Linked DNA regions of Homo sapiens: regions 1, 2, 3, 5, 6 and 7 are each linked to region 4. Evidence: promoter capture Hi-C in 16 types of primary human blood cells and fetal thymus (Javierre and others, 2016). All regions are on one chromosome and are shown on one strand. The core of a region is centred on a gene start or on the middle of the fragment in contact, and the rest is flanking DNA. Distances in the headings are between cores, read along the strand shown. Region 1 overlaps MAP3K7 (mitogen-activated protein kinase kinase kinase 7). Region 2 has its middle 76 kb from the start of MAP3K7. Region 3 overlaps MAP3K7 (mitogen-activated protein kinase kinase kinase 7). Region 4 holds the start of MDN1 (midasin AAA ATPase 1). Region 5 overlaps RNGTT (RNA guanylyltransferase and 5'-phosphatase). Region 6 has its middle 98 kb from the start of MAP3K7. Region 7 has its middle 5.0 kb from the start of PNRC1-DT.

The links. The method cuts DNA at HindIII sites, captures the fragments that hold promoters and counts their contacts. A CHiCAGO score of 5 or more calls a contact.
Region 1: a fragment that was not itself captured here is called in contact with the fragment with the promoter of MDN1 in region 4 in 1 of 17 cell types (fetal thymus); the score reaches 5.3 in fetal thymus.
Region 2: a fragment that was not itself captured here is called in contact with the fragment with the promoter of MDN1 in region 4 in 2 of 17 cell types (naive CD4 T cells and total CD4 T cells); the score reaches 5.3 in naive CD4 T cells.
Region 3: a fragment that was not itself captured here is called in contact with the fragment with the promoter of MDN1 in region 4 in 2 of 17 cell types (activated CD4 T cells and monocytes); the score reaches 6.6 in activated CD4 T cells.
Region 5: a fragment that was not itself captured here is called in contact with the fragment with the promoter of MDN1 in region 4 in 1 of 17 cell types (fetal thymus); the score reaches 7.1 in fetal thymus.
Region 6: a fragment that was not itself captured here is called in contact with the fragment with the promoter of MDN1 in region 4 in 10 of 17 cell types (naive CD4 T cells, total CD8 T cells, total CD4 T cells and 7 more); the score reaches 12.3 in naive CD4 T cells.
Region 7: a contact is called between a fragment that was not itself captured here and the fragment with the promoter of MDN1 in region 4, in 1 of 17 cell types (fetal thymus). The highest score is 5.5, in fetal thymus.

What each region holds. Positions count from the first base shown.
Region 1 is chr6:90,571,180-90,574,189 of GRCh38, reverse strand. MAP3K7 (mitogen-activated protein kinase kinase kinase 7) reads left to right here. Exons shown (of 17, transcript NM_145331.3): 2 at 2,383-2,493. Among named protein-coding and RNA genes, the nearest start is that of MAP3K7, 14 kb to the left of the region's middle. The HindIII fragment of the contact is 5,120 bases long and covers 1-3,010 here.
Region 2 is chr6:90,509,220-90,512,135 of GRCh38, reverse strand. No RefSeq gene overlaps it. Among named protein-coding and RNA genes, the nearest start is that of MAP3K7, 76 kb to the left of the region's middle. The HindIII fragment of the contact is 2,408 bases long and covers 343-2,750 here.
Region 3 is chr6:90,528,106-90,531,363 of GRCh38, reverse strand. The region is part of intron 13 of MAP3K7 (mitogen-activated protein kinase kinase kinase 7); the gene reads left to right. Among named protein-coding and RNA genes, the nearest start is that of MAP3K7, 57 kb to the left of the region's middle. The HindIII fragment of the contact is 1,050 bases long and covers 1,420-2,469 here.
Region 4 is chr6:89,818,485-89,821,297 of GRCh38, reverse strand. It overlaps MDN1 (midasin AAA ATPase 1), which reads left to right and starts at 1,504. Exons shown (of 102, transcript NM_014611.3): 1 at 1,504-1,792. The coding sequence starts at 1,691. RefSeq lists enhancers at 567-1,186, 1,187-1,806, 1,461-1,850, 2,427-2,813. The HindIII fragment of the contact is 1,090 bases long and covers 762-1,851 here.
Region 5 is chr6:88,957,792-88,960,630 of GRCh38, reverse strand. All of the region lies in intron 1 of RNGTT (RNA guanylyltransferase and 5'-phosphatase), which reads left to right. Among named protein-coding and RNA genes, the nearest start is that of RNGTT, 4.4 kb to the left of the region's middle. The HindIII fragment of the contact is 1,322 bases long and covers 920-2,241 here.
Region 6 is chr6:90,487,466-90,490,617 of GRCh38, reverse strand. No RefSeq gene overlaps it. Among named protein-coding and RNA genes, the nearest start is that of MAP3K7, 98 kb to the left of the region's middle. The HindIII fragment of the contact is 8,086 bases long and covers 1-3,152 here.
Region 7 is chr6:89,074,164-89,077,044 of GRCh38, reverse strand. No RefSeq gene overlaps it. Among named protein-coding and RNA genes, the nearest start is that of PNRC1-DT, 5.0 kb to the left of the region's middle. The HindIII fragment of the contact is 2,346 bases long and covers 163-2,508 here.

The sequences.
Region 1 (3,010 bases), core at 41-2,540, 750 kb before region 4:
TACCTGGTTTTAACTTACGAATCCTGTAGATATTCATGAAGGAAAATGTCAGCACTTCTATTTTACTGCTGAGAAAACAGAAACTCAAACTTGTCCACCATTAAGAGATAATAGGTAGACAGAGCCCTACATTCAAACTCAAGTCTGTTGGATTTCAGAGCCTGGGTGTGCTCTTTCATTTATTCTAATGGTACCAGGTAGCCAGTACCCTCTATTCACAATAAAGTAACTGAATGGCAAGTACAAATGTCTGATGAGAATTGTGAAGGAGAACAAGAACCTAAACCACAGAACACTGAGTGCCCAGGGCTAGGACGAGTGAAATGGGAAGTCAACAAAACAAAGACTAGCTACCAGAGAAGTTGGCCTACTTTGAAATTTTGCCTAGAGGCAGCCCCATTTCCTTTAAGCCACTGATGAACAGAAGCTGAATATAGAGTATGTTCATCATTAGGTGCTCTAGGCTTCAAATTCTGGCTTCTCTGAATATTTTCTGACCATCCAATCTTGGGCAAGTTACAACCATGTGACTCCATTTGCCTCCCTTTTAAATGGAAGAGGATTAAATGTGTTAATGTATGAGAAGCACATAGAATAGTACCTGGCACATAGTAAACATTCAATAAATGTTAACCATTTGAGTAGCTTTAGACATTGAACAACATGGTAAATGTTCATTCTGCCTTATTGATACATGAAGTGGAATTTAAGCTATGGCTAGAGTGGTCATACACATCGCAGTTTACAACTAGTGTCCTAATATTATTATTATTAATGCCCTTTTTTTGATCTCCAAAGTGCCCTCAGTTAGATAATAACTCATTTGATCAACCTAGTTATAGTCAACTTTGTTATAGAAGAGTTTTGTGCCAGGAATTTGTTCATGTAAGTCTAAAGTAAAAGTTCCTCCAAGGGAAGATACTAACTTCTACTTCCCGACATGGGGCTTTATATATGTTACAAATTAGGACTGGTAACATTCCCGTGTTAGACTACCTGGCATCAGACTGCACTTTAACACTTGCTAGCTATATAGCCTTGGGCAAGTTTTACTTCTTTAAAGCTAGGCACTTCAACTGTAAAATGAGGACAGCATTAGTACCTTCCTCTAGGCCTGTGTAAATGAGGTAATGTATATAAAGCATTAGTTAAGTGCCTGCTGCATAGAAAGTACATATAAATATGGTTAAGAGATGCAGATTTTTTGCTAAAGAAAAAGGCCTTGATACAAAGTGCTTAGGTTCATTGGAAGCTGAGAGATTGGAGTAGGTGGTGCTTAACTAAGGTCCTTTCACAATGATAAAATCTAATGATTTTATTCTAACAAGTATCAAAAGCTATTTTTGTTTTCTTTTTTTATATTATGAAAAATGTCAAATATTTGTAAAAATAGGACTCCATGAGAGAGCAATGAACCCATGCAGTATTCATCAGTTGGCTTCAACAATAGTATGATACATGTCTGATCTTTATTTTTATGACTTTTGAAAAATAACTGTAATGAGATCTATTTTACACATCATAAAATTCACCCATTTGAAGTGTACAATTTGGTGGGTTTTGCAAATTTACCAGGTTGTCAGCCACCACCATAAATTAGGTTTTTGGTTTTTTTTTTTTAATAATTTCATCACTTTGTCAGGATACCAGCTACTCATTTACTGTTAATTCTAATTTTCACCCTCGGACCCAGGTATCTATCTATAGATTTGCCTTTTCTGAACATTTTGTATAAATGGAATCATACAATATGTGGTCTCTGGTGTCTGACTTCTTTGACTTAGCATAATGTTTTTGGAGTTCATATCGTAAGTAACATATATCAATAGTTTTTCTTGCGGAATAAAATTCCATGGAATAAATAATACTATATTTTGTCTGTCCTTCATAGCCGGTCTTTTAACATCTATATTTATATCGTTTCTCCTCCATTCCCTATCCCTGTTGAATTATTCAAAGGCTATTTTTAATTTCTTAAATATGATAGCTGAAAATATTTATTATATGTTCCTGCTTTTTGTTTTTCCATATCATCTTCTGTCTTCTCATTCATCTTGTCTGTTTTAGTTTTTTTTTCTCCATTTAACAAATCACTTTACTTTGTTCCTCCATGTGTCTTTTTTGGTTTTACTTGAGAATGAAAGGGTGTACAGATCATAAACTTTCAAAGATAGAGACAAGCATGCATTTAATTATCTTCTCACTTTAACAAAAATTCATACTTGTTCAGTGGCAAATCCAGATACTGTTGATTTCCATGTTTTTTTTTTTTTTAATTTAAAGTCTTAAAGATTGACTTTAGTTTTTTATATTGGGCTGATCTATTTGATTCCGATTCTTGTGGTGTTTTTTGTTTGTTTTTTGTTTGTTTGTTTAACTCAGGTTGTTGGAAGAGGAGCCTTTGGAGTTGTTTGCAAAGCTAAGTGGAGAGCAAAAGATGTTGCTATTAAACAAATAGAAAGTGAATCTGAGAGGAAAGCGTTTATTGTAGAGGTAAGTTGAGATTTCATTTCTTTTGTGTAGTTCTGCACTTAAGATACTCTGTGAATTTAATATTATGAAAAAGATTGGTTTCTCAGATGTCATTTCTTTGTATACATGAACATCAGCAATTCGGTTTAATCAAAGGTACTGCCATAGGAACATTTTCTCGTTCATACTCTTAATTCTGATTAAAAATTAGGGGAAAAGCGACTTAACTACATAAATGAATTCACCCCTGAATTAAAACAGTTTCATCCATGGAATTCAGATCTATTTCAAGGCGTAATATTTTAATTTTAAAATAGAAAAGAAATGGTATGCTTTCCCATTATCTAAAATTAAGAAATTTTATACACTTACTTTAAATGGAATGTTTTTAGAAACTCAGATTATTTTAAAGAAAAATTATTTCAAATTTGATTTTTCTCATTTAGCATGAAAATTTGCACCTATTCTTTTAGAAATAGATTAGATTGAATGATGAAAGAAAATCCAATAATCATGAAATTAGCATATTATCAAATTT
Region 2 (2,916 bases), core at 297-2,796, 690 kb before region 4:
TATTTTCAGTAACAGTGAAGATAGTCTTTGTAAAAATGTTTGACACTATCTCATACAGATGCTGTCAGTGGTCCTTCCTGATATGGTGGTGCACGCAGAAATAATATTTGCATTGGCAGATCATGTAACACTTAACACCAGGCTCTATGCTCCTTTTCCATCCATGACTAGACACTGGTCTTGGAGGTTCTGACACCCCCTGCCGTGCATTTCCACCAAAATGGAACGTCAGTTTAAATGACCTGCCCATCTGTTACTTTAGGCAGCCTTTAAATCAGTAGGTTCTATGTTATGCATAACTTGAGTCTTCCAAAATACATAAGACCACTTTTAAATGAAGCTTTTTTGAGAAATGAATGGCTATTTAACTGTATTTGAGTGTCATGGTACTTTCAAATTTCCAAGTCATGAAAGGCATTACTTTTCCTTTAATTTAATGGTTAATGATATCTTATCAGTGCCATGTAGCAGCAGGATCATTGCTTTGAAAGCACCAGAAATTACTGAGTAAATGCTGGATATTTATATTCTGAAAAGCAAAAGTAACTTACAAAATGCAGTTACTTTTCAGACTTGTTGCGTGTTTCTATTTGTGGATACCTCTTCTTTAGTTATTACTGGAATGATTACATTAATCATCGATTGGCTCATTTACTAAATTCAGACTAGAGACTGAAGAAACCTGAAACTGGGTGTAACTTTGGTTGTAGAATTAATGGTGGTATTCCCTCATCACATGCTCTAGAACCATTTTGGCTTTTAATCAGTTTCCTACAAAGGTCCTTAACTAAATATCCATCTAAAATGTGATAGACATCTTACTTAGAAAAATTGGCACCACTCTTGTTCCTTTTGCATGTACCATGAAAATATTATCTAAGCTGCATATGAAATGGATGAATTATATGCTTACAAAGCAGATCTACTTCTGTACATTGGGGCCATGATACTATTAGTACATTCTTAGAATTATGTAGTCAGATTTCAGTTTTACTATCTTTGCATTCATGGTTCCAAGTTTTATGTTTAGGAGGATTGAGGAAGTAGTATAGATTTCCTTGGCCTACACTGAACATTTCTTCCTATTGTGCTTTCTTTTTTATCCATATTAGAAAATTCCTTAACCTCAGTGCCTCAGACCATGTTCACTATCTCTCTATATTCACTAGGATGTAAGTTGGGCTGCTGCCCAAAATAATGGCTGAAACAAGTTAGCAGTTCTTTTTTTCTCATATAAAAAACTAAAGTAGTATAATTATATACATCTTCATTGCCGCCAAAGGGAAGAGGGAAAGGGTAGGAATTGTGAAGGTGCACATCATTTACACTCATATGTTTTGACCAGAACATAGTCAAATGGCCACTCCTAGCTGCAGAGAGGCTGGGAAACATCTCTATAATGGATAGCCACATGCTTCGCTTAGGAGATCAGATAGAGTTAAGTTACAGGTGGAGGATTGAAAGGTTATAGGAGACAAGAATAGCCTCTGCCACACTACCTTGGGAAGGAAAATAGGCCACTGCCTTGACCACTTCCTCCTTCCCCACTCTCCACAATAAAAGGGGAGCAGGAAAACCTGGCCTCTCACTAGAATGCACAAGTAACTTGCATCTTCATTAATGTAAAACTCTGATCAATATGGTGTACACATACCTGGAGATTTTCATGTATTTATAATTGATGCAGCTTGGAAAAATAAAACTTCAAAATGTGTTTTAAGTTGAAACACCTTAGCTGGAAACTAGATTTGAAATAATTTAAATATTCAGTATCAGACAGTGTCCCTTAGAAGAGAAACTTTGGTAGGAAGTCCATTATGAAAAGAAAACAAAATTTAACTTACAAGCATAAAATAGGTGTTAACAAACTTAGAGTTGTCAACAAAGACAAAGAGAAAGAAACTAACATTTATTAGGTGTATATTATGTTTCAGGCATTTCTTAAATGTGACCCTTGCTTTAGAGGTAAGCTGAAGCACAGAGGAGTTTGAAAGTTTGCCCAGGTAGTAAATTATGGACTCCAGTTCAAACCCAGGTCTTCTAAGCCTTAAGCCCTACAAAACTCTCACTTTTAATTAGTGTAGAACTTGGAGTGTATTTTCTTGTTAATAAAAGGGAAGAGAGCTAGATTCCTAGGCTCATTCACAAAAGTATATTTGGTCCTTAATATAAATGAAATAATAATGCAATTGAATGGAATAATTACAAAAGACTATGAGAGAAAATTAAAAAGTAAAGTGGTTAATGTCCAGATGTTGGCATTGTGGTGATTTTCCCCTTTTAAAAATCCTTTCCCTTCTTACTGTTTTCTGTGCAATAAAAATAAAAACCAAGAGGTGAGGAAGTCTTAGACAACACTCTGACCAAGTTTTATTGGCATGGAGAACTCCACAGGACAGCTTAATGGGCCAGGTACCCAGGCCCTTTGCCATGGACACAATTAGAGCCTTTGCCTTCATCCTACAAGAGCTGGAATTTCTCTTCCCACTATTGGCCCCAACCTGGATCCCTCCAGGTAAGGGTGGATCTGAAAGGAGGGGATTCTAAAGGTATTCCCATGGATTTGATGAGAGAAATTCTGCTCCCAGAGTTTGATGGGAGAAAGTACACATTCTGGGGAAATCCTGCTTCACGATGACAGTGTAGGACCAGGGATAAAACTTTTTTCCCAATTCCCCAAGTGATTCGGTTGCACAAATGTGAGAACCACCAAGACTTCTGGTTCCAAAATGGCAGCACAGAAGCAAGCTTGCTTTACTCCCCACCCCACTAACCCCCACACACAAAAAAAGACAAACATATAGTGCCGAGATTATCACCAGCAATATTCTAGAATTCAAATATAAAAAAGAGATAGTTCCCAGAACCATGGAGAAGTGAAAAGACTCCAAGTAGTCAGATAATTGGACCTCCATG
Region 3 (3,258 bases), core at 695-3,194, 710 kb before region 4:
TAATTTTAGCTACTAAGATTTCTGAGGGTATTAAATAGCTTTTAAATGTCAGTCTAAATAATAACACTGGGTGTAAATTCCTGACTTATGAAAATATTTTCCCAGTCTTTCAGGTAAGATATTAAAAGCTGAGCTTTATTTTTGTCTGTAAAATAACTTCCAATTCCTTTTTATAAATATAGGGATAAATTTCTGGTCAAAGGCCAATTCTGGTTCATGTCTACTGATGGTAATCTGCCCCTGAGGTTTAAATTTGGCTTAGTATTCTTTTGCTGCCTTAAATTGCTGTGTCACGTTTCTATACTCTTGTGACTTTCATATCCAGTTCTTTTGGTAAGTCAAGTTTGCCTATATCTCTTAAACTTTGCAATTAATGTGGGGATAGAATAAGTAATTTTAAATGTCTTAGAGGAAGGAGCAACTTAAATGAGTTTTAATAGTTTGAGAGCATTTGTGACCCTCAGAATTTTACCAGTGATTTTAAAAAATAAGTACTGTAAAAACTTCTTCAGTAGTTGGTTACAAGCAGTAACATAAATTCAGCCACAAACTAGTTTGAGTTTTTTCATTGATTGTCAGATGTTATGTGTTCCTCTTATTTATGCCTTGTATTATTCACATACTCAAAAACTACAGTTATGCCTTGTTTTTAAATATTTCCTTAGTTTTTTTATACAAACATATTAGCATATTTTTATTTATTGAGATACACATTTCTTAAAATATAAAGATTTATTTATTAGTTAATGGATTTAAATCTAACTGTGCTGGTCTAAAAACAGTTTTGAAACTTGCATTAAAAGTGCAAGCCTTATATTTCTTAGTTTCATAGCTGTTGGAAATTACAAGTGGGACAAACAAGCATGCACAGAAGGTGCTAAGAGTTTCTTGGAAAGTAGAAGGTGAAAAGAAAGGTGTAGCAAAGAATCATTTTGCAAAAGATTTAAGCTTAAGGAGTACTATAAAATTCCTATTAGGTCCAACTTATTTGTTTTAATATTGCAGATGTTCAGTGACCTCTTTTTTAAATATACTAAATCCATTCTCATTTTAAAAACCTAATTATTACTTCTACTGTATTTTGTTGATTTCTCACAACTGATACTGATTCTTACATGTCACAAACATGTGTTTCTCTTTTTAAAATGTGCATTAGCATTACACTGACTCTGAAACCCTGGTCTGCCACCACTTTGAAGGAAAAATGCCTTTGATTTATAATAGCAGTTATAACTATGGGCATATTTGTGTACTTGCTTTCAGTCAAAGAAAGTTAAAAAGACTCAGGAATAATTTCATAATGTCTATACTTGCTTTGTCAAGGGTAAAAGTATCCTAAAAGTAAGAGTGAAACATTTCATCACTGGTTTTCTTTGGTGTATGTCGTTGTTATTCTTATATACTAAAGGTAAATAAGCTTAAGCACCAATCTTGTATCTGAGTGCTAATAGCTTGTGTTCTCATTTTATTCAATGAGTATCTATTATGTGTTTATTATATATTCAGCAATTTCCCAGATCCTGGGAAGTACAATATAAAAAGTACGCATGGTCTCTGCCCTTAAGAGGTTATAATACTTTTGAAGAGGAGTAAAACTTTGAGACTACTATAATTTCGGGCACAAGTTGAAGTAGGAACTGACTATACAGCCAAAATTCAAAGAAGAAAAAAATCTCGTGTGAAGACATTTCATGTACATCATTTCATTTAATTTTTATAACCTTATAGATAGATAATACTGTCCTTATTTTCCTATTGAGTCTTAGAGGTTAAATAAGTTACCCAAAGCTGTACTAGTTAGAAATGGCAGAGCACAGTCAAACTCTGGGCTGTCTTGTCTCCAACACCCAACTTCTTACTGCTACTACTTTTTCTCATTCACACTTCATCAATGAGAAACCTAAGTCTCAGAGAGGCTAAGTTACTTACACAGGTTCACACAGCTGTAAGTGGCAGAATGGAGACATAACCCCAGGTCTCCAAAGTATTAGACTGAAACATGTGAAGTTGCTGAGTTTTCAACTACAAAAACACCAGTTTTATCTGGTTCAGTTTTATGCATGCCCTGTGCACTACGCCGTATTATCTTTAGGTGAATATGAGGTCAGGATTAAAAACTGCAAGGGAAACAGGGGCATGAGGAATTTTAAGAGGAGAGAAAATCCAGATGGGCAAGGTAAACCTGCTGATGGAGAGTCATGAATGCCAGAGTGAGAATTTCAGAATTGATTCAGTAACAATCAGTAAACGAACATTTTGCCTGCAGTACACTGTTAGGCACTCCATGTCCTCAAACACAAGGTCTGGCCTTGTACACAAACAACCAGAGAAGTGGCAAGAATCACCACATAATGTAGAAGAAAACCTGAGCTGGGCCTTACAGGGTGGGGAAGGATTAACAAGGAGAAGAAAAGAACAGAATGAGCAATCTTATATGGAGTTAAAAATTGGTTATGGTGTAGAAAAGCTTTTTGGAATTTCTGAAGCAATTTCAGTGGGTACCCAAAATGAAAGTCATATTTCATCAGTTTTTCTTCAAAGTTAATTTATGATTTTTTTCTCTGAAATTGTTAGGAAAGTACCTTTCACTAAAAGTATAATTAGATTGTTTGTAACACAAAGGATAAATGCTTGAGGGAATGGGTACCCCATTTTTCATGATGTGATTATTATGCATTGCATGCCTGTGTCAAAACATCTCATGTGCCCCATAAATATGTACCTACTATGTACACACAAAAATTAAAAATTATTTTTAAAAAAACAGAAATGAGAGGAAAACAAAGTACCTGTCACTGTTTATTATCCTGAATCCATTGTGGCTTTTCAAGACCTAAAATCATATAATTTTAGCACTATATGGAACACTTCTCATCACATTCTTAACCCAGCCCCAACCCCTCTCCAGATAAAGAGAGGTTGAAGTGATCTGAAGCAGACATTACAGCATAATTAGAACTCACATACGATGGATTCTACTCAAAGGTACTTTTGTATTGCATTTCATTTTACTTGTTGCAGTCTTGAATTTGAGTGTTTGTATATATGTTGAAGCTAGATATAAGATTCTTCATGAATTTATTTTAAGTTTTATTTTCTATAACTCCATGTTCTTTTTTAAGTCTCTTCTTTGGTACTCAGTAACACATCAAGAAAAAAAAGGTGCTTTTTAAAAAGTCCTTATGAGGCCGGGCGCGGTGGCTCACGCCTGTAATCCCAGCACTTTGGGAGGCCGAGGCGGGCGGATCACGAGGTCAG
Region 4 (2,813 bases), core at 255-2,754:
CATGTTGGTCAGGCTGGTCTCAAACTGCTGACCTCAGGTGATCTGCCCGCCTCGGCCTCCCAAAGTGCTGGGATTACAGGCGTGAGCCAAGGCACCCAGCCCTAATTTTTGTATTTTTAGTAGAGACAGGGTTTCACCATGTTGGCCAGACTGGTCTCCAACTCCTTATCTCGTGATCTGCCTGCCTTGCCTTGAGCCACTGCGCCCAGCCCACAAGTGCACTTTTAATGTTATGGACTCTACTATTTTTTATGACTTCCAGAATATGCTATAACTTACACCCCATAGTTTAATATTCCCAATTGAACATTTTCTTCCAATATCTGTATTAAGAAAACTGCAAGGGGTGTCTTTGTCACACTTAGTGAGGATTTCCGCAGGCTAGAGTCCTACAAGGGGAATTGCTGGGGCAGAATGTTAACTAGTTAGGTATGAGCAGAACAGGAGAGCGCTCCCCACCCCACACATACCAGGACTATTGGGTGACAATCAAACGATGGTCAGGCGGTTCTTAACTGTTTCTCTAACGTTCACCGGGGCCAGCGAAAGGCAGTCTCCTAATAGAAAACACCTGAAACTGATCAGTAGCTTCCCAGTAAGATCTCAGGAGTGGGGAGAAGCAATGCAAGTTCCCCAAAGTATGCCAACATATAAAACTTCAAGTCAACAGGTCAAGCTGCGCACTTGGTTTCTCAAGTCGCCTGCTTGGCAGTCTTCCAAGTTGTACTTTCCTCCTTTTCTTTCCGTCCCGTTCTAAAGCTTTTTGATAAACTTTTACTTCTATTCTGAAACTTGTCTAGGTCTATCCTGCCTTATGCCCTTCGTGGAATTATTTCTTCTGAGGAGGCAAGAACTAAGGTTACTGCTGACCCCTACCTATACAGGGGGTAACTGCCACCGCTAACAAGAAGGGGAGAATCAGCTTTTCTTTCTTTTTTTGAGACAGTAAAAGTCTGCTGTGTCGCGCGGCTGGAGTGCAGCTGCACGATCTCGGCTTACTGTAACCTCCGTCTCCCGGGTTCAAGCGATTCTCCTGCCTCAGCCTCCCGAGTAGCTGGGACTACAGGCGCGCGCCACCACGCCCGGCTAATTTTTGTATTTTTAGTAGAGAAGGGGGTTTCACCATGTTGCCCAGGCTGGTCTCGAACTGCTAACCTCAAGTGATCTGCCCTCCTCGGCCTCCCAAAATGCTGGGATAAAGACATGCGCCACCGCGCCCGGCCGAGAATCAGCTTTTCTCTCACATCTGATCTTTCCGTGTGTTAAGGCAGAAGCAAGGCACGGTGGGCTGAGACTCACACGCCCCCTCTTTCCTCCCCGGCCTAACGCACTCTTCTTTCTGTCCCACCACGTGCTGTGTTCGCGAGTCCCCATCACTCCTGCATCCAAACCGACTAGATTTTTGTTTCCATTTCCCTCCCGGAAAAGGCGGGACAGCGAAGACTGGCGTTTCCGCCGCTGAGGGGCTGAGGCCGGGAGGGCGCAGCGTAGCCGTCCCGAGCTGATGACGTCAAACGCCGTGTGCTCACCCACGTGTGGTGCCCCTCTCCCGGTGTAGGCGCTGGAGCTGAGGACGCCTTTCCTGCGGGCGTAGTTGCTGGCTGCTCGGGCACTGGGACCTCGGCGGCTTGGGGACGCTGGCCGCGAAGTAGGGAGCGCAGGTGGCCGCTCGGGGTGAGGGCCCTGGGTCATGGAGCACTTCTTGCTGGAGGTGGCAGCCGCGCCGCTGCGGTTAATCGCAGCCAAGAACGAGAAGAGCCGCAGTGAGTTGGGCAGGTTCTTGGCCAAGCAGGTAAGACGTGAAGGGAGAGGGAAAGCGCCGGAACGACTGGGTCGCCCCACTAGTAAGCTTCCTGCGCTCCCCCGCCGATACTCGCCGCTTTAAGTGGGGAGTGGTGCAGCCTCAGGTCAAGCTGGCCCCCTCCTGTGGGCTGGCGCAGGTCGTGGAGGTTTCCGAGCGTGTTTGAGGCGATTGGAAGGAGTCTTTTGTTTTTATCTGGGGGAGCCTTCCAGTACCCTTCCCATCGCCTCTCACCCCTATGCAAGCGCTTTGGCTGCTTGTGGCAGAGGTGGCCTTCCCAAAGGAATGTGGTTTGTTTTTCTGAAATTGAGGTTGCGTTTCTGCCGTTTTGACAAGTGTACGTATCACCTAAGTGTGCGTAGTGCAGCCACTCCTGTTAGTTTGGGGAACCATCGACAAATACTGATTGCATTCCTGCTGTGCGTAAGGAACGGTGTGGCGCTGTGAGAAAGTGGATAGATAAATTCGTTACGATCTCTGCCATGAGGGAAATTTGCATCTGTTTTTGGAGACAGTTCGTAAACACTTACAACAGCTGAAGTACAGAGCAAGACAGCTCATACTCACTGTAACTAACTATACAAATTATAAGGTTAATTAGAGTTTTCTGGGAAATAGGTCTTCGGGCTTTTAAGAACCTTCTCATTGACTCCTTCTATCTGAGTTGAAGACACTTTTTTTTTTTTTTTGAGACGGAGTCTCGCTGTGTCGCCAGGCTGGAGTGCAGTGGCGCGATCTCGGCTTACTGCACCCTCCGCCTCCCGGGTTCAGGCGATTCTCCTGCCTCACCCTCTCAGTAGCTGGGATTACAGGCGAGCGCCACCATGCCTAGCTACTTTTTGTATTTTTAGTAGAGACGGGGTTTCACCATGTTGGCCAGGATGGTCTCGATCTCTTGACCTCGTGATCCACCCGCCTCAGCCTCCCAAAGTGCTGGGATTACAGGCGTGAGCCACGGGACAGGTGAGTGTGGTCCCAGGTACTTGGGTCCCAGGTGTGGCTAATTAAAAAA
Region 5 (2,839 bases), core at 331-2,830, 860 kb after region 4:
TATAATTTCTTTTCCTTTTTCCTTTTTTTCTTTTCTTTTCTTTTCTTTTTTGTATTTTTAGTAGAGATGGGGTTTCACCATGTTGGCCAGGCTGGTCTCCAACTGCTGACCTCGGGTGATCCGCCTGCCTTGGCCTCCCAAAGTGTTGGCATTACAGGTGTGAGCTACCGCACCCAGCCCTCCCTAGTTTCTTAAAGATATATCATTCAACATAAAATTATTTCATATCTGCTATGTAAAGAGCTTACTAGGAACTGTGGGAATGTAAATATGAGACACAGCCAGGTGCATTGGCACATACTTGTGGTCCCAGGTACTCAGGATAGTGTGATGGTGATAGTGATGGTGATTTTGAAGTCATTTTATTTAGCAAATATTTAAATGTCTACTTTGTGCTAGTCCTGGGTGCTAGGGAGATGGCTAAGATATATTACCCTTAAAAAGCAGAGTCTCATGGGAGTAGCAAACCATCCATTTTAAGCACAGTTCTGTTGTAAAAAATGTAGCAATGACTCTATTGTGGTATATGATGGGAATCAGAGGTAATAAACCTAATTCTTTGAGGTTGAGGAAGAAGAGATGGGAAGGAAGAAGGAGATCAGGTGAGACTTCCCAGAGAAGGTCATACATGAATTATCTTCAGTAAATAGAAGTTTTCTAGATAAATAGTTGGCAGGGGGTGTTATTGAAAGTTTCTGTTAGGATAGGATGATGATGGGAGAGATAATAGACTGAAAAAGTGTCTTTGTTCTGGAAGATGTAAGTGAGGTTAAGAGGTTGGAGAATAGCCTGATCATACAGGCAAGTAGGGTGTGATAAGGTATCCTAATATTTATATGCTTTAAATTTTCAGTGGCATACAATTGCAGTTTTTTTTTTCAGCATCGAGATGAGATTATTTGAATCCAAGTTAAAAGCTTACTTTGACTTTTCTGTGTTTAATGAATTGATGGAGAAAAGAGTGGAAATGGAGAGACTAATTAGGAACTTGTTGTAGTCCAGGTGAAAGACAATAGTGATAGTTTAAAAGTGACAGATGAAGAGTAGAAGGCTAATTTGAGAGATATTAAGAAGGGAAAATGGACAGAACTTGATGTCGTATTTAGAATGAGGGAAAGAGGGTCAAAATTTAGTCTCAAATGTCTGGCTTATGCACATGAGATAGTTGATATTATTAGGGCTTACTGAGAGAGAAGCAGGTTGGAGGAGATATTAAGATCCTGATTGCTCAAATAGAGATCTTTAGTAAAGATCTTTTTAAAAAACATTTTTATGTTATTTCAGTAGTTTTTGGGGGACAGGTGGTTTTTGGTTACATGGATAAGTACTTCAGTGATGATTTCTGAGATTTTGGTGCACCTGTCACTCAAGGAGTGTACACTGTAGTAGTCTTTTATCCCTCATCCCCCCTCTCCACACTTCCCCCTGAGTACCCAAAGTCCATTATATCATTGTTATGTCTTTGCATTCTCATAGCTTAGCTCCCACTTACAAGTGAGAACACAGGATATTTGGGTTTCCATTCCTGAGTTACTTCACTTAGAATGATGGGGTCCAACTCCATCTAGGTTGCCATGAATGCCATTATTTCATTCCTTTTTATGGCTGAGTAGTATTCCATGGTATATATACATATCACATTTTCTTTATCCACTCATTGGTTCTTGGGCATTTAAGCTGGTTCCACATTTTTGCAATTGCAAATTGTGCTGCTGTAAACATGCCTGTGCAAGTGGCTTTTTCAGATAATGACTTATTTTCTTCTGGGTAGATACCCAGTAGTGGGATTGCTGGATCAAATGGTAGTTCTTCTAGTTCTTCAAGGAATCACCATACTGTTTTCCCTAGTGGTTGTAATAATTTACATTCCCACCAGCAGTGTAAAAGTGTTACCTTTTCCCCACATTCATGCCAACATCTAATATTTTTTGATATTTTAATTATGGCCATTCTTGCAGGAGTAAGGTGGTATCTCATTGTAGTTTTAATTTGCATTTCCTTGATAGTGATGTTGAACATTTTTCATATGCTTCTTGGCCAACTGTATATCTTCTTTTGTCTGTTCATGTCCTTTGTCCACTTTTTGATGGGATTATTTGTTTTTTTCTTGCTCATTTGTTTCAGTTCCTTGTAGATTCTGGATATTAGTTCTTTGTCAGATGCATAGTTTGCGAAGATTTTCTCCCACTCTGTGGGTTGTCTGTTTACTCTGCTGATTATTTCTTTTGCTGTGCAGAAGCTTTTTAGTTTAATTAGGTTCCATCTATTTATTTTTGTTTTTGTTGCATTTGCTTTTGGGTTCTTGGTCACGAACTCTGCCTAAGTCAATGTCTAGAAGAGTTTTTTCCAATGTTATCTTCTAGAATTTTTATGGTTTCAGATCTTACTTAAGTTTGAGTTGATCCATCTCCAGTTGACTTTGTATAAGGTGAGAGATGAGTTTCATTCTTCTACGCGTAGCTTGTTAGTTATCCCAGGACCATTTGTTGAATAGGGTGTCCTTTCCCCACTTTATGCTTTTGTTTGCTTTGTCAAAGATCAGTTGGCTGTAAGTGTTTGGCTTTCTTTCTGGGTTCTCTATTCTGTTCCATGGGTCTGTGTGCCTATTTTTATACCAGTACTATGCTGTTTTGGTTACTATAGTCTTGTAGTATAATTTGAAGTTGGGTAATGTGATGCCTTTACATTTGTTCTTTTTTGTTTGCTTACCTTGGCTATTTGGGCTCTTTTTTGGTTCAATGAATTTTAGGATTGCTTTTTCTGGTTCTGTGAAGAATGATGATGGTACTTTGATGGGAATTGCATTGAATCTAAAGATTGCTTTTGGCAGTATGATCAT
Region 6 (3,152 bases), core at 610-3,109, 670 kb before region 4:
AGAGTTGGTTCCTATTTCTTCTCCAGATGAAATGGTGCATCTTGAATCAGGCCAGCTCTGTGTGCAGGGCTCCATGGCGCCTAGGCTGCACAGGTCACAGTCACCTAGGAGGCCACACCATGACAGCCCCACCACAGGACCTAACAAGAATGCACAGCTGGCCCAACAAGACCGATTATAATCAGCTTCGTGTTGTTTTATTTTACTCTCTTCATTTGATAGAAACAAAATCACCAAATTCAAAAGATTACTAAGCAGCAAAGGTGAATGAAGCAGACAGCTAATATCAGACACCATTTCAAAAGCAACTGCCCGGATAAGCCTCTAATGGAATTTCCTAGTTTACAGCTCTGAAGATGAAGAAGGCAAGTTACCATGGAAACAAATAGTCTCTTTAAAGAGAGACAGGCTCTTCTCTTAGTCTGAGCTCTTTCCAGAAGGGAGGAGGGAGGAGGTGGAAAAGGCAGGCCAAGGATCTGTGACTAGAACAATGAAGGGAAGTTTTCTTCTCATTATTAAAATTTTACCAATGAAATCTGTGTGAAGGTTCAACTCAAGATTATTTCATTTTCTTGGCTGTACCATTAAAAAAAACTTCAAGTTAGATATTTTGAGATACTTAAGCAAGGTGACTTTTTACTGATAATTTCTTTAAATTGTTTTTCTTTATTCAGTTAGTGACACATGCTGGTAATACGTGGAGCCCTTCAGTACAATTTCACAAGAGGCAGAAAGGAATCATGTTTGCTCCTCTTCCACCTCAACACACAACCTCTGAGGTAACAGCCTGTTGTTTCTATACCTCTGCCTTGTCTATATATACATTTAAAGGAATATTTCCAAACAAAAACCAAACAACTTAATTTAAAAATGGGCAAAGGGCTTGAATAAGCATTTATCCAAAGAAGATATACAAATGGCCAATAAACACATGAGAACATGATCAACATCACTAGTTATTAGGAAAATGTGAATCAAAATGAGCTCTCACACCAAGATATCACTTCACATACTTTAGGATGGCTTTTATAAAAAAAAAATTATAACAACTATTGGTGATGACGAGAAGAAATTGGAAGCCTTGTGGCACTGCTGGTGGGAATATAAAATGGGGCAACTACAATAGGAAACAGTATGACAGTTCTTCAAAAAATTAAAAACGGAATTACCATGTAATCCAGCAACTGTACTTCTGGATATATAACCAAAAGAACTAAAGAGACTTCAAACCCCATTTATATACCCATATTTATAGCAGCATTATTCACAGTAGCCGAAAGGTGGAAGCAAACCAAGTGTCCATTGATGGACGAATAGATATAAAGAAAATGGGGCCGGGTGCATGGGCTCACGCCTATAATCCCTGCATGTTGGGAGGTTGAGGGGAAGGATCACTTGAGCCCAGGAGTTTGTATATACATACAGTGGAATATTATTCAGCTTTAAAAATGAAGGAAGTTCTGACACATGCTTCAACAGGGATGAACCTATATTAGGCTAAGTGAAATAAGCCAGTCACAAGAGGACAAACACCATATGACTCCACTTACAAGAGGTTTCTAGAGTAGTCAAATTTATAGAAACAGAAAGTTAAATGGTGCTCACCAAGAGTTCTGGGAAGGGGATTAGACAGTTATTGTTTCATGAGTATAGAGTTGCAGTTTGGGAAGTTGGAAAAAATTCCAGAGACAGACTGTGGTAATGGTTGTGTAACAGTGTGAACATACTTAATGCTCTAAATCTGTGTACTTAAAAGGGGTTAAAAAGTTAAACCTTATGTATATTTTAACATAACTTTTTTACATTAAAAAATATATATGCAGATGTTCAGGAGTGTTGGGTTTTGTTTTTGCTTTGCTTGCTTGCTCTTACTAAAAGAGAGTTATAATATACATATACTTCTGTGAAACAAACCACAATCCTTAATGGTACAAAACAGCCAGTTAATGATGCTTAGAATGAGGGATTCCATGCAGCAGCAATTTGACTTTGGTACAGAAGGGACAGCCGTGTCTGCTCCATGGCATCTGAGGCCCCCTCTGGAAAGACTCAAAGACTCAACAGCTGGGAGCTGGAATCATCTGGAGATTTCTTCACTTATGTGTCCAGCACTTGATTCTGGGTCCTCACCTGGGCGGTCCATCGGAACACCTACCTGTGGACCCTCCATGTGGGCAGCTGCTTTGCACTTCCTCATAATATGGCAGCCACATCAAAGGGCCACATCCCAAGGTGCCAAGCAGAAGTATATAGAATTTTTACAATCTAATGATAGAAGAAAAACTTTACCCAAAATAAATTTAACAGAGTATATTAGAGCAAAGAATGACTTGAGAATTGAGTAACCCTCAGAACAAGAAAAGGTTCCAAGAACTCCACTCTGCAACATGGGCAGTGAGTATTTACAGAGAGAAAAAGGCCACAGAAGGCGGAAACAAGGAACAAAAAGCAGATTGGTCATTTCAAAGCTACTTTCCTTGTAAAGCAGAGTGGATTTTCTTATCCTGCTGGCCAAAAGTGATCTGTTTCAGAATTTGGCTATTATTTCTCTCTCTTTCCTGATTCCTGGGGAGGTCAGACAAATATTGGTGTGGTGATATGAAACTTTGGCACGAATGATGCTGTTTTGGTTTGGTCTGTTGAGTCTACAGGAGCTCAGTCCAAAATAGTGAGCTCCTATAAACTGTATTGAACACTAGCCTCACAAGTTACATTGTGTCACTGCCAGAGGCCTTGGAACCAGAGTGACTTCCTCTTGAATAGGATCTGGGTAAAATAAGGCTGAGACCCACTGGGCTGCATTCTCAGGAGGTTAGGCATTTTTAGTCATAGGATGAGATAGGAGGTCAGCACAAGATACAAGTCACAAAGACCTTGTTAATAAAACAGCATGCAGCAAAGAAGCCAGCCAAAACCTGCCAAAACCAAGATGGTGATGAAAATGACCTCTGGTCCTCCTCACTGCTCATTATACATTAATTATAATGCATTTGCATGCTAAAAGGCACTCCCACCAGCACCATGACCATTTACAAATGCCAGGGCAATGTCAAGAAGTTACCTTATATCGTCTAAAAATGAGAGGAACCCTCAGTTCTGGAAATTGCCCATCCTTTTCCTGCAAGTAGCCATTCTTTTGCTCCTTTACTTTC
Region 7 (2,881 bases), core at 86-2,585, 740 kb after region 4:
CACTCTAGCCTGGGCGACAGAGCAAGACTTCATCTCAGGGAAAAAAAAAAAAAAAAAAAAAATCAGATCCTTTTGCTTGGGCCCAAAAGGCCAAACTTGGAGGTAACAAGATATTCCAAGGGTAAAGGAAATTTTAGGAGAATTCTCAGAGTTCTTGAAGCTTTTTGCTCCAGTGTACATCTTGATTTTATTTTTGTTAAGCTAATCTTTAGAGGAGGTTAGAAGAAAAATAAAAGATTGGAAAGTAAACTAGGTATTAAATAGCAGAAAAAAGAGGTAATGCCCATTTATGAAATAAGCAGCTTACCCGCATTGACACTAAGCAGAACTCCAAATTCCACTTCTCTCTCTTCTATCTACCTTTGTCTCTCGTGTATTTTACCTCTGTCCTCTTTCTCTCCCTCTCTCTGTATGAAATGTCATTTTCTTTCCTCCTACCCTGAATGTCTTTTTTCCTCTTTATATAGACTTTATTACCATTTTTTCTACCTATTATTACTTAGATTTTTTTTTCTTTTTCTTTTTTGAGACAGGGCTTCACTCTGTCACCCAGGCTGGAGTGCAGTGGTGCGATAACAACTCACTGCAGCCTCCACCTCTGGCGTTCAGGAGATTCTCACACCTCATCCTCCCTAGCTGGCGCATGCCACCATGTCTGCTAATTTGTGTGTGTGCGTGTTTGATAGAGACAGGGTTTTGCCATGTTGCCCAAGCTGGTCTCGAACTCCTGAGTTCAAGTGATCCAACCACTTTGGCCTCCCAAAGTGCTGGGATTACAGGCATGAGCCACCTCACCCAGCCTATTGCTTAGATCTGTAATGTCTAAGGTGTGAGGGACACCTGTGTGAAAAGAGGAACACTTAATCAAACTTCTATTTTGCTTTTTTTTTTTTTTTAGACGGTGTCTCACTCTGTTGCCCAGGCTGAAGTGTAGTAGTGTGATCTCAGCTCGGCTCACTGCAACCTCCACCTCCCAGGTTCAAGTGATTCTCCTGCCCCAGCCTCCTGAGTAGCTGGGATTACAGGTGCATGCCACCATGCCTGGCCAATTTTTGTATTTTTAGTAGAGATGGGGTTTCACCATGTTGGCCAGGCTGGTCTCAAACTCCTGACCTCAGGTGACTCGCCCGCCTCAGCTTCCCAAAGTGTTGGGATTATAGGCGTGAGCCACTGCACCCGGCCTTCTGTTTTGCTTAATGCTCAAATTATTAATCTTTCAAATTTATAAAATAATAGTCTTCTAAACATAAAACAACCAGGAAATCAAAATGTTTTTGTTTAGCAAGTAAAAATTTTCCTAACATTTCAGCATTGATTACAAAACTTATTTTATAATGTACTCTGAAGAGTTTAAATAAAAATCTAAAATTTGTGTTAAAAAGCAAAATATGCACAAATTTTCACAATAATGACAAATTTATGACACTTGGAGTGCTTATAAAGTATTGTTACCATAGATTGAAATTAATGTCTCCATTATCCCTATACTTATATCTCTCTGGGGTTACAGGTTTGTACAGGTTATAATTTGCATGAGGGTACCTGGCCAAAGAGTCAAGGGAGAGCTGAAACAGAGCTTTGACTCTGCTCTTGAAGACATCTTCCCAAGGGCTGGGGCCATCTGGGCATCGCTATGATTTGAACGTTTGTGTCTTCCCCAGATTCCTATGTTGAAACCTAATAACCAGTGTGATAATGTTAGGACGTGGGGTCTTTGGGGAGTGATTAGGTCATCAGGTTGGAGCCCTCATGCATATGATTAGAGGCCACAGAGGCCCCTCCTCCTTATACCACTGAGGACACAGCAAGAAGTCTGCAGTCTGCAACCCAGAAGAGGGACCTCACCAGAACCTGACCAGCTGGCACCCTGATCTTGAACATCCCGGTCTCTGGAAGTGTGAGAAATAAATCTCTGTTGTTTGTTATCTACCCAGTTTATGATATTTTGTTTTAGCAGCCAGAATGGACTAAGGTGGCTTTTTCTTATTGGTATGAAGGTGTCAAAAGGACTAGTGGCAACCTTAGGGTACAATAATAATGATGGACATTTGATTCTATTTCAGCCTAGATATAAAACCAAAAGAAAAAGCGTGTCATGGCCGGGTGCAGTGGCTCACGCCTGTAATCCCAAAACTTTGGGAGGCCGAGGTGGGAGGATCACTTGAGCTCAAGAATTTGAGACCAGCCTGGGCAAAATGGCAAAACCCACAAAAATTAGCTGGATGTGGTGTTGCCCACCTGTCATCCCAGCTACTCAGGAGACTTGAGGTGGAAGGATGGCTTGAGCCCAGGAGGTCAAGGCTGCAGGGAGCCATAATTGCGCCACTGCAGTCTAGCCTGGGTGACAGAGTGAGACCCTGTTTCAAAAAAAAAAAAAAAAAAAAAAAATAGAAAAAGCATGTCATTTAGACCAGCTGATGTTTAACCAATTGCATCTTAGCTGGGTAACAGTCTCCATTATGCCTTCCTTACCTGAGCCTTGCTCTCATTGTATACATTGATCAAGCTTTTAAAAATCCTTGCCATTTGCAGAATGTATTTCTTTATTTAGTTTATGGAGATAGGGTCTTGCTCTGTTGACCAGGCTGGAGTGCAGTGGCACGATCGTAGCTCACTGTATCAAACTCCTGGGCTCAAGGAACCCTACCACCTCAGGTTCCTGAGTAGCTGGGACTACAGGCAAGTACCACCACACCTAGCTAATTTTTAAATTTTTTATAGAGACAGGGTCTTGCTTGTTGCCCAGGCTGGTCTTGAGCTTCTGGCCTCAAGCAGTTCTCCCACCAGTGCCTCCCAAAGCGCTGGCATAAGCCAATGCCCCTGGCCCTGCAGAACTTTTAATTTCTAGTAAATTGATGCCTCTCCCTGAAATACGGTGTAT